3 separate regions of the Homo sapiens genome follow, and all the other regions are linked to region 1. Evidence: promoter capture Hi-C in 16 types of primary human blood cells and fetal thymus (Javierre and others, 2016). All regions are on one chromosome and are shown on one strand. Each heading gives the region's core, a stretch centred on a gene start or on the middle of the fragment in contact. The rest is flanking DNA. Distances are from core to core; before and after follow the strand shown. Region 1 holds the start of ACSM3 (acyl-CoA synthetase medium chain family member 3). Region 2 overlaps CDR2 (cerebellar degeneration related protein 2). Region 3 overlaps SDR42E2 (short chain dehydrogenase/reductase family 42E, member 2).

Region 1 (3,989 bases), core at 392-2,891:
CAACCTGAACAAAAGAAAGAAACTAGAATGGGAAAAAAAAGAAAAAAAAGAACAGAGCCTCAGGGACCTGTGAAACTATCATAAAAGATCTAACATGGGGGCTAAAAATTTACTCCAAGAAATAATAGCTGAAAAGTTCTCAAATTTGTCAAGAGACATAACTATAGAATTCAGCAATACAGAAAAAGAAATATACAACAGGACCAAGCAAGGTTTATTCCAGGGAGGCAAGGCTGGTTCAATATTAGAAGATCAGTGTAATCTATCTTATTAACAGGCTAAAGAAGAAAAACACCACATGCTTATAGTAACTGATGCAGAAAAAACACTTGCCAAAATTCAACACCTATTCATGATAAAAACACTCAGAAAAAAATAGAAATAGAGGAGAATTTCCTCAACTTGATAAAGGGCATCTACACAAAACCTACTACTAATATTGTACCTAACCATGAAAGACTGAATGTTTTCCCTCTAAGATCAAAAGCAAGGCAAGGATGTCTGCTCTCATCACTCTTATTCAACGTAGAGCTAGACACTCTAGCCTGCGCAATAAGGCAAGAAAAGGAAATAAAACGCATATAGATCTGAAAGAAAGAAGTAAGATCTGTTTACTTATTTACAGGTAATGTGATTACACAGAAAATCCCAAGGAATCAACAACAAAAGACTCCTAGAACTCAAAAGTGACCAACAAATTCCTCTTTAAGTAAAGTTGGGTCTCTCACATGTAATTGAAAGAGTCCTTTATTTATTCACATATCCATCAACTATTTATTGAATGCCTAAAATTTGCCAGTAGCTATTCCAGGCAATAGATACACCATCAAACAAAAAGAGTTCTTACCCTCAAGGGTGATAGTAAGAGATGTAAAAAGTTAAAAAATGGTAAAAGAGAAAAAATGAAGAGTGCTACTTTAGAAAATGAGGTAAGGGAAGAGTTATTTAATAAGACACCTCAGAAAATGAGGAATTTGGCCAGGGGGATATCTGAGGAAAGAGTTCCAGTCAGTGGAAACTGTGAATTCAGAAAGCCTGAGGCTGAAACAGGCAAGTGTGTTTGAGAAAAAGCAAGGAGGCCGGTGGCTGTGCAGAGTGAGGCAGAGGAAGGAGAATGGGCTGTGGATCAGAGGACCCTGTGCCAGATCATACAACTCCTTGCAGTTCATGTAAGGACTCGGATTTTACCTGGAGTGGAAAAAGAAGCACTGAAAGATTTGAGCAGGGGAGTAACCTGATAGCGTTTATGTTTAGTCCTGCCACTTCGACAGATAAACGCACCAATGGGCTTGATGAGATTTAGGCCAACCCATAACCGCCCCTCAACTTCTTTCCTTTCAATTTCAAAACTCCTCTATGGCTTCCTCCATCTGTTCTTCCTTCTGAGAAGTGCTCTCTCTGCCCCTTTACAGAACTAACCACTTCGGCAACTCCTTGGACACTTTCCTTCTTGTTAATAATTTGCTTTCTCCGCCCCTCAAAAGCTTGCTGTTTCTGTAAATCATTACCTGTAAGAGGAACCGCTGGGAGTCCTGTAAACTTTAGCCCAGAGCTTGGCTCCTCCTCCAGAATGTCTCCACCAATCAAGGAAAGTGTTTTGGGCCAGTCTTGCTCCTCCGGATTGTCAGACTGCTCCTCCCTCTTCTTTAGACTGCCACGAGGAAAAAGCAGATGTGAGAACTCAAGGTTCAGGGCTGCTCTTCTAAGAAACAAGTCTGCCATAATCTCCATCTGTGTTGGAATCTGTTAACTAGTGAGTACCTCATCTCCCCTCCTGTGTAAGATTTCCTGAACTGGCACATCTGTTTTTTGAGCAAAGATAACAAACAGATGAACAAAACCAACAATCAAAAATGCTGTCATTAAAGTCTTGGGCAGCCAAAGTTTCTCTCAGAATTTCTCAGTTGTGTGATACTATCTATTAAGTGATGAGGAGTATGCACACACAAAAGGCTATAAATGTAGCAGCTGAGTTTTCATGTTGAGCCTTTTGGTGCTATTTGATTTTTTGAAAAACTATGTACATGTATTAAGTTGATAAATTTTTTTTTTAATTTTAATTGAACCAGATGCGGTGGCTCAAGCCTGTAATCCCACCACTTTAGGAGGCTATGGTGGGCAGATGCAGATCACTTGAGGCCAGGAGTTCGAGACCAGCTTGGCCAACATGGTGAAACCCTATCTCTACTGAAAATAAAAAATTAGCCAGGTGTGGTGGCAGGTGCCTGTAACCCCAGCTACTTGGGAGCCTGAGGCAGTAGAGTCACTTGAACCTGGGAGGTGGAGTTTGCAGTAAGCTGAGATTGCATCACTGCACTCCAGCCTGGGTGACAGAACAAGACTCCATCTCAAAAAAAAGACCAGGTAGTGGCTGAGATTTTCATTGTACTGTCTGCTTAGCTCCCCACCTTGCTCAGTGACAGATGGGAATCCATCTTCTGCATCATCCAGAAAGTATGTAAATTACTTCCAGGAAACTTTGGGAAACACAGATGCAAACCTAAGAGCAGCCAGTTTTCTCCTTTAGGTGGTCAAGGGCAGCTGCAAAAGTTCTGTATAGGAGGGGCTTCAGGCAGGGTCTGGTTGGGTTTGGAGACAACAGCAGTGAATTTACCTTGCGTTGAGGCTGTATATGTTAAACTACTGTTATTACTTGGATACTTAGAGGGAGGGATGTTTAGGGAGCTGTGGGGAGGCTAAAGCCCCCTTGGCTGTAGGGACAAAGAGCTTGCATTTCAGATGAGACCTTAAATACTTTCAGAAGCCTATCTGACCAGGGGTGGTACTGTCTTTCTTAGAAGAGTTTTCCTTACCAATGTTTCTGTGGCTCAGTATAAAAATCTGGAGTCACCCTGGGAAAGTTATCTCAGCAATTTTACCTACAAATAATTTTATAAACCTGGGAAATAGAAGTTGTAAAATGCTAAGATCGATGAAAAGGGAGGAAAAGAACTTTGTTGAGGAGAAGGTAATCTTATGGTTTTGATGAAGAGGATGTCGATATTTGCTTTTTGGTAGAACAGAATGGTTAGGTTCATTTTAAGCTCCAAATGACTGATCAATTTTCTTTTCAACATACGTTTGAAGGATTCTGAATGTGGTGTAGAGTATTGTATGGGAGCTAGGGAACAAATCATACTAAACTCTGATTCTATTCAGAATCAGCAAGCTAAGTATGATATATTTATCTCCAATCATATTAATATTTACATAATTATTTAATGTCTTCCTTAATAGTCTATAAGCTTCATGGGAGCAAGACCAGCCGTGTCTTGTTCACAGCTATATTTTCAGCATTTAGTACAGGTCTGGCATATACCAAGTGTTCAATAAATACACGGGTAATGAATAAATGCGTTGTCCAATTTAAATATGTGTGTCTGTTTGTGTATACTTCCTTGTCTGTAAAATGAAAATACTAATAAATAACTGCAAAATGCTTAACAGTACAACCACTTGCCAGATCTCAGCAAAAATGTTACGTCCCTAGAGAGACCTCCTAAAAGGTCCCTTTTCTCCCATTACTCTCTTTGTTTTCTTGCGTAACATCACATTTATTTATTCCCTTGTTTACTATATGTGTCTTTCTATGAGAGCAAGGAGGACCTTGTCTCTTGCATTCCCTCCTGTATCCTCTATGTCTGAAATAATTCATGGCAAGTGATTAATAATTGTTGAATAAATAAATGAATCATGCCAACCTACCAAGAATGAAGCTCAAGACCTTAAGATATTTGTCCAAATTCCTGCCTTTTATTTAATAGAATCAGAAATTGTTTCTAATACTTCACAACCACTTAAAAATACTATTCATTTTTACATCCAAGTAATGAAAGAATCAGGACGTTCCTTTTGGAAGACATAGTTTCAACATTTTATCTAAATTGCAAAATTATACAAAAACTCAAGTGACCATTGATAGGGGACCGGTTTAAGAAATGACAGTGCAGTTCTTCACTAGAATGTCATACAACTGTTAAAAGAAAAAA
Region 2 (3,989 bases), core at 633-3,132, 1.6 Mb after region 1:
ACTCCCACCAACAGTGTAAAACGTTCCTATTTCTATGTGGAGGATCTTAATTTGGAAAAAAAAATCAATCTCTTTCTCTGAATGAGGCATTCTGGACCAAAAAAAATGAAAAGTATGTTGCTTTGACGAGAAATATATTTTAGCTTAATATGCTTCAAAGACTCCTGTTATTTTTAATTTTATGAGAGTTTTATCACCATTATCCTCCTTATTCACGAGAAATTTATCAGATGATTTATTCTGGTCCTGCTAAGACTGCTTCCTAAATGGCCAAGGATAAAGGGGAATAATCCCAACCTTAATGCCGCAGTGTAAGTCACCTTGATTCCCTCCCTGCTCAGCTCTACCTGAAGACACTAAAACACAGTATATATTCCAAAGGAAAAAGTCACAGTATTTCCCTGGACAGAACCAGAAAGAGGGGAGAAATGGTTTGAAGCTTACTGATGATCAAACTGTAAAAGACTCAGAACTTGACTTTAAAAACACTCTTCTTGGCCAGGCATGGTGGCTCACACCTGTAATCCCAACACTTTGGGAGGCCAAAACAGGCAGATTGCTTAAGGCAGGCCAGGAGTTCAAGACCAGCCTGGCCAACATGACAAAAACCCACCTCTAATAAAAATACAAAAATTAGTCCGGCGTGGTGGCACGCGCCTGTAATCCCACGTACTCAGGAGGCTGAGGCATGAGAATCTTTTGAACGTGGGAGGTGAACGTTGCAGTGAACCGAGATCGTGCCACTGCACTACAGCCTGGGTGACAGAGACTGTCTCAAACACAACACAACACACTCTTCTTGAGGCTTTTTCTACAACTCTAGAAGGATTTGCAAGGCTAACAAACAATGGGCTAAATGACACTCAACGGGCCCTTAAAGTGTTGAAAAAAGCATATATGGCTTTTTTTTTTTCAAATCCATTTACATAACTCAGCAGCAAAGAGTTGAACAAACACTTAACCTAACTTCAACTTTCTCATCTGAAACTCTTGAAGTCAAAAGTGTTTTGGAAAATTCTTTAAATTTTAGAAAGACAACATGGCGCTCATACCTGACACACAGCTGACACCTTATAATACCTGTGAGGTCTGGGCAGCACCCTGTAATCAAGCATTAATATTTCTGCATCAAAAAGTATGAACTAAGACTATAAACAGCCTCACATCAGTTCAGGTAAAGATCTACTACCAAATGAATCTGTTGCAAATTTAAGGGGAAAAAAAAAATCTTGCTTTATAGAGCTTTTTGAGTTCGGAATTAGTAAGTGGATCTGTTAGTACCTACCATGTAGAACTGGCAGAATTAAATGAGAAAGGTGAGCACATGGCACGGTCTATAAAAGCCTGTGTGTAGTCTTCACTGCCTCAACTCCCACCAGCTTCTTCTGGTCCTTTGGAAATCAACCACTAATTCTCATGCGTGAAGCTTTCTCAGAACTAAAGGAGTAGGCCCTTAATCCTGCCCTCGGGCTAGTAATTCCATAGTAGGTTCTTGTCATTGATGGGAACATGTTCAATCTCTTAGGAATTGATGAGATTCCACAGGAGCGGAAAAAAGGCTTAGAATCACAAGAATATATATATAATAGCTGCAGAAATGTTTCAAGCTTCTTTATATCAAGTATAAATTATCAAGTATTCTTTAGGACTCAGAACTACCTTTAAAAAGGCTAATGCATAAGCCAGACATTAATTTATTAATATACAACAGGAACTGTTCCTGCCCAGTGACAAGAATATTCACATCCTCTATTAGGACACAGCTGCCCCACAAAGGGCATGTGAAAGGCCGATTCATGAATGAGAGTCTCTGGTAGACATGGGATCAGAGGAGTCTGATGGGAGGCAGTGGTATAGTAGCTAAGAGCACAGGCTTTGGAGTCAGAACCTGGTTTGAGGTCTTGCTTTGCTGTTTAGAACTGGGTAACCTACAGCAAGCACATTTTTCTAATGTGAGTTCTCCTCATCAACTACTTCATAAGGCTGTAAAGATAAATATGTGTGTGGGAGAGACTGGACTATGTCACCCCAAAGCATGCGTCTTTGGCATAAAAAGGTTCCTGCCTCCTCCCTCTCTACCAGGGAGAACAAAGGTTAACCACTAACAACTTTAGACCTTTATGGGCCAGAAGACAGCACCAGAGGAATCCACACTAACAAGCTTTGCTAACGGGCCTTTATCACCACTTACTTGCCTTCCCACAAGTTCTGCCCCTAGACAAAGTTCTTCCCCTTTGTCTTGTCACTTCTCTAAAAAATTACCATTCTTTGTTGAAGATACTACATAAGCTGGAATTCAAAGCCACCTCTGAGAATGACTCATCCCCTGGGTATCTCCCACACATATAAATGAAATAGATATGTTAGTAAGCTTGTTTTTCTCTTGTTAATCTGTCTTTTGTTGCAGGGGTCCTTTCCAACTAAGCACTCATGAAGGTTGAGGAAAAAAATATTTTTCCTCCCTGACATATACAAATATATAATTTACAAAAACGTTAATATATGTAGAGAGCTCAGCATGAGATCTGGCAGATGGTAAATTGCTCAATAAGGAGAAGCTACTGTCATCTTTATTTAAAGCTACAGTTTTCAAACTTTACATGTGCTAAGATTCACCTGGAAGAAGATTTATTAAAGTGTAAGAACCTGGGTCCCTTCCCCTCAAACGGCTGAGACTGGAGTAGAGCCAGGATTCTGCATTTTTAGCAACAAACCCAGGTGATATTAGTACAGGCAGTCCAGAGATCACACTTAGAGAAATGTTGATCTTGGACATGGAAAATCCTGGACGTCCCCTGCCCTGACCAATGTCCTTTTCTCTTGGGTCTAGGAGACACAGGCATTCACTGGATCAATGATGACTCTTCAGCTTAATGCTCACCGTCTCCCTGCATAGGGCTCAGCTTAGATGCAGTTATCCACTAAGATTAGGTTATATTTTAACTGTACCACAGCAGCATTCATCATCATAACGCTTCACTTTGGTATGTTCTTAACAATCATTAATTCCCTGAAATTACAAACTAGTTACCTTAACCTTGCTTGAGTGATCCTTCCTAACTTCTCAGTCCAAACAAATACTGAATTTCTACAGATGGCTAATCTTATCCACTGCATTTTAAAACTTTCTATTGTGGACCAGGTGTGGTGGCTCATGCCTGTAATCCCAGCACTTTGGGAGGCCAAGGCGGGTGGATCACTTGAGGACAGGAGTTCGAGACCAGCCTGGCCAACATGGTGAAACTCCATCTCTACTTAAAAAAAAAAAAAAAAAATTAGTTAGGCATGGTGGCACACGCCTGTAGTCCCAGCTACTTGGGAGGCTGAGGCATGAGAATCACTTGAACCCAGGAGGCAAAGGTTGCAGTGAGATAAGATCACACCATTGCACTCCAGCCTGGGCGACAGAGTGAGACTATGTCTAAAAATAAATAAATAAATAAAACTTTCTATTGTGGATAATCTCAAACATATATACATGCAGAGAAATGGTTTAATGAACTCCCACGTACCCATCAACCAGTTTCAACAATTATCAACATACAGCCAATCTTATTTCATCTCTACTCTCCTACTTTCCTCGTCCTCCAATCATTTTAAAGCTAATCCAAGGCATCTCAAGTATACATCTTCATACATTTCTAGGACGTTTTATTTTAACCACAATTCCTAAGGGAAAAAAACTCAATAATTCCTTAACATCTATTACGTTTCAGCATTAATATTTTCCCAATTGTCTCAAGTGGTTTTTCCAGCTTCATTTGTTAGCTATTGATTTTTTTAAAATTTCACACTTAGGGGAGATATCTTTGCCTTTTTTGGAGTTGCCCCACTGCAAGGCAAGTGCCTCCCTCCTCTAATGCCTTTACGATCCCCTATCCGGGGGGATGCAGTTCTCCTGGCTGCTCCACCTAAGCCAGCAGTTCTTAGCCTGGGGTCCATGGATAGACTTTAGAGGGTCTGTGAACATGGATGAATTTAAAGGGTCT
Region 3 (3,989 bases), core at 854-3,353, 1.4 Mb after region 1:
AGTACCTACTACATACAGAATATAATTATTTTTATGAGACAGGGTCTCACTATATTGTCCAGGCTGGTTTCAAACTCCTGAGCTCAAGAGATCCTCTTGGCCAGGTGTGGTGGCTCGCACCTATAATCCCAGTGCTTTGGGAGGCTGAGACAGGAGGATCACTTGAGGCCAGGAGTTTGAGACCAGCCTGGGCAACATAGCAAGACCTCATCTCTACAAAAAATTTTAAAATTAGCCAGGCAAGGTGGTGCATGCCTTTAGTCCCAGCTCAGGTGGGGGATTACTTGAGCCCAGGAGTTCAAGGCTGCAGATTGCACCACTGTACTCCAGCCTAGGCAACAGATGGAGATCCTGCCCCTAAAAACCAAAAAAAAAAAAAAAGATTCTCCCCCCTCAGCCTTCTAAATAGCTGAGATTACAGGCATGCACCACCATGCCTGGCTCAGAATACTATTCTCATAATAATGATGATGCAGGTTTATATTTGCTTAGTTAAAAGAGAGGATGTTTTCATCACAGATTGTAAATAGCAAAGTAATCGGTGGTATTTGAGGTTATTTGCAAAAATCCTTCCAGTCCAGTCGGGCACGGTGGCTCACACTTGTTCCCAGCACTTTGGGAGGCTGAGGCGGGTGGATAACCTGAGGTCAGGAGTTTGAGACCAGCCTGGCCAACGCAGTGAAATCCTGTCTCTACTAAAAATACAAAAATTAGCTGGGTGTGGTGGCACATACCTGTAGTCCCAGCTACTCGGGATGCTGAGGCAGAAGAGTCGCTTGAACCTGGAAGGTGGAGGTTGCAGTGTGCTGAGACCACACCATTGTACTCCAGCCTGGGTGACAGCACAAGACTCCATCTAAAAAAAAAAAAAAAATTACTTCCAGTCCACTCTCGTTTTATTGTCTCTGATGCCCTGCTAAGTTAAAAAGGTCAAAAAAAAATCGTGATCTCCATTTTATGATGAAAAATTGAGCACTAGGAAAATTATTTGTCCAAGGCCACACCATACTGGAATTGGCTTCAGACTCCATGTTCAGTGCTCTTTAACAAGGGGAGTCAGAGGGGGAGAGTGGAGAATGGGCCACAGAAAGAAGTAGTCACCTATGGCTTCTCCTTTGAGCCATCCGGATCAGTGGAGGAGAGAATAAGATGATACTGACAATCTCTTGAGTTGTGACAGTATGCCAGGCACTGTGCTTTATCTCATTTAACTGAGTTGTAGACAACATTGTCCTCTCCATTTAGAGAGGAGGAAATGAGACACACAGTGAAATAACCTGCCCGTGATCACTCACTTAAATGGTAGAGCTGGGATTTGAACCCAGACCTCAGTGATTTCAAGCTTAACCATTAGCTTGTGAAAATGCATCAGGAATCACATCCACATAAAATAGCTGCCAGGGTGCAGCTGAATTGTGGTCAGGCAGGGACTTGGCTCCTCTCCCTCTTGTTTAACTTGGGGATTTCCTTGTTCAGCTCAGGGGCAATGTCCTTAACTGTGGAAGTTCCTTGGCTGTGGCTCGGGTACCCTCTGCTGGTCAATCTGTGACACATCAACCAGCCCTCCAGTTTGACTTTATAGCCTTTTATGCATTTAACATAAATGTTACCAGGCACTGTGCTGAGCAACGGAGGCAAGAAGACATAGTCCTTGCCCTTAGGGAGCTCCTAGTTCAAAGGGGAAGACAGCCCACTAACCAGGCAACTCAACACTGTAATTAGAGCCATTCTTGGGAAAATCGCGAGAAACTCCAGTGCACACAGAAGGGGCGCCTCAGCCAACTCTGAGGAAGTCAGAGAAAGCTTCCCAGAGGTGACATCTAGAGACATCTAGGTGTATTAGGGACCCTGCTTATCTAGCGTAACTCAACTCCTGTGCTCCCCAAAGCCCTGCACTTACTGACTAGGAAAAAAAGGGACAAATACTGGCCTCTCTCCTCACCCCCCATTAAGCATCCAAGACCACAGGTTTGACCCCAGGGGCTGTTTCAATGCCATGGGAGAATCCAGCAGCTGGTGGATTCTTCCCCAGGGTCCGGCTGAGGAAAAAGAGAGGAAGAAATGAGTCAGGTGGGAGAACATCTCCAGGTGCCAGCACAGCAGAGAAGAAATTAGGCTAGAACCTGGCTCCCCTGTGCGACCCCAGGCAAGTCACTCAACCTCTCTGACCTTTTTCCAAGTATGCACAGAACAGATAGTGCTAGTACCACCTGAGAGGATTAAATGAGGTAGGGCATAGAAAGGATTTAGTCCAGGCCAAATGCAGGGTGTGTGTTCCTTAACTGCTGATAGCTATCATTACTACCCTTCAAACCAGTGGGCCCCAAGCCATCTGGCAGCAGGGGAAACACAGCTTAGACCCTGGAGAGCAATCAGTTCTGCATAATCGAATTCCTCTCTTAGGGAAGCTTAGTTAATAAGCGAGGGCATGAAGGCTGCGACTGGGGCCCTCCTGGTCACAGTTGGTCTGGGGTTGGGGGCAGGAAGCCAAGGTCGTTTCCTGCAGATGTTTCTGGCAGGCGTTCACCTTCTCCTAGCGGATGCCTAAGAATGTATCAAGGGCCTCCTGAGTCCCAGCACCGTGCTAGGCCGGGAAGATGAGTGTAGGGGTGAGACCTTTGCTTCTTAGGGACCAAGGAGTTAAATAGGGTGCGAATTCAGCGGGGCTGGAGGGGGCGACGCAAAGGCGGCACCCTCCAATAAAAATGAACATGTAAGGAAGAAAGGAAGACCTCTCTAATGAGGGCATCGCAGGAGCAAGACGCTGCACTCGGGTCCTTTTAAATCACTATGTAATGGAGGGGAAATCCCTGCCCTCTCTTTTCCCTTTCCGTAAACAACGAAGTAGAGGATGTCCTCCTCCCACGAGGCCCGCCCTCGGATGCCCCGCCTGTCCCCGCAGGTGCGCAGCGTGGCCGTGACGCACACCTTCCAGATAGCCAAGGCCCGCGCCCAGCTCGGCTACGCGCCGGATAAGTTTAGGTTCGCCGACGCCGTGGAGCTATACGTGCAGTCCACGACCCGGCGGCCCCGCGGCTCCACGGCGCGGACCCTCCTGCGCCTGCTGCTCAGGCTGCTGCTGTTCCTCGGCTTGCTCGCCCTGGCCCTGCACTTCCTAGGCCTGCAGCCTCTGCACGCCGCCGTGGAGCGCCTGTGACCGTCCGCCGTCCGCCGCCCGCTAGGGTCGGCCCCGCTGCACCCTCGCCCACGCCCGGCTCCCTGGGCTTGTACCAGCCCCTGCCCCGCCTTCTGGGTTTGAGCGCGCCTCCGCTCCGCCCCTTGAATCCTGGTCACGCCCCCGAGCCGCTCTCCAGACCTAGCCCGGACCGCCGACTTCTGGCCACGCCCCTATCTACTCCCAGACCTTGCCTTGCGCCCTTCCTGTGTTTTGGCCCCGCCCCTGTCCTGTCCCGCCCCGCCCTCCGAAGTGGGCACGCTCCTGCTCCGCCCCCTGAATCCTGGCCACGTCCCTGGTCGGCCCAGACGCGTAGCCCCGAGTCTCTTTCCATGTTTTGACCACGCCCTTGACCCGCCCTTCAAATTGGGCACGCCTTCTTCCCCGCTCACTGATTTCCTGGCCTAGCCCCTGAGCAGACCTCCAGACCTAGCCCCGCCCCCGTTTTATAACCCCGCCCCTGCTTCACGGCTTGGGCACGCCTCTTCCCCGCCCCCTGACTTCAGAGCCTAGTCCTGAGCCGCTCTCCAGGCCTAACCCCGCCTTCATGTCATAGCCACGCCCCTTCCCGCCCTTCCATGTTTGGGCACGCCTTCTGAGTCCTGGTCACGCCTCTGTCCCGCCCCCTGAATCTTTCCTACGTCCATGACCCTCCCTCCAGGCCCTGGCCCTGCCCCTTTTTTCCTCCCTCCGGCCTGTCCGGTTTCTGATATGGGCCAAGGCTCACAGCTTCCTCCGCCTTCTGGACCTTCTCCTAGTCCCTGCCCAGTCCCGGCCCACCCCCAGATTCTCCCTCATTCTGGTTTCGCCCCCT

Evidence for each region. Contacts are between HindIII fragments. The CHiCAGO score rates a contact against its expected background, and 5 or more counts as called.
Region 2: a fragment that was not itself captured here is called in contact with the fragment with the promoter of ACSM3 in region 1 in 1 of 17 cell types (total B cells); the score reaches 6.1 in total B cells.
Region 3: a contact is called between a fragment that was not itself captured here and the fragment with the promoter of ACSM3 in region 1, in 1 of 17 cell types (total B cells). The highest score is 5.7, in total B cells.

The regions. Positions count from the first base shown.
Region 1 is chr16:20,762,373-20,766,361 of GRCh38, forward strand. ACSM3 (acyl-CoA synthetase medium chain family member 3) reads left to right here and starts at 1,642. Exons shown (of 14, transcript NM_005622.4): 1 at 1,642-1,753. RefSeq lists an enhancer at 1,779-1,908. The HindIII fragment of the contact is 1,761 bases long and covers 1,483-3,243 here.
Region 2 is chr16:22,351,470-22,355,458 of GRCh38, forward strand. The region is part of intron 2 of CDR2 (cerebellar degeneration related protein 2); the gene reads right to left. Among named protein-coding and RNA genes, the nearest start is that of CDR2, 21 kb to the right of the region's middle. The HindIII fragment of the contact is 554 bases long and covers 1,606-2,159 here.
Region 3 is chr16:22,187,237-22,191,225 of GRCh38, forward strand. SDR42E2 (short chain dehydrogenase/reductase family 42E, member 2) reads left to right here. Exons shown (of 13, transcript NM_001394319.2): 13 at 2,903-3,989. The coding sequence ends at 3,157. It overlaps LOC124903666 (a long non-coding RNA gene), which reads right to left and starts at 776. Exons shown (of 2, transcript XR_007065028.1): 1 at 735-776. RefSeq lists silencers at 2,901-2,990, 3,081-3,130, 3,271-3,370 and enhancers at 3,076-3,575, 3,831-3,910. The HindIII fragment of the contact is 605 bases long and covers 1,802-2,406 here.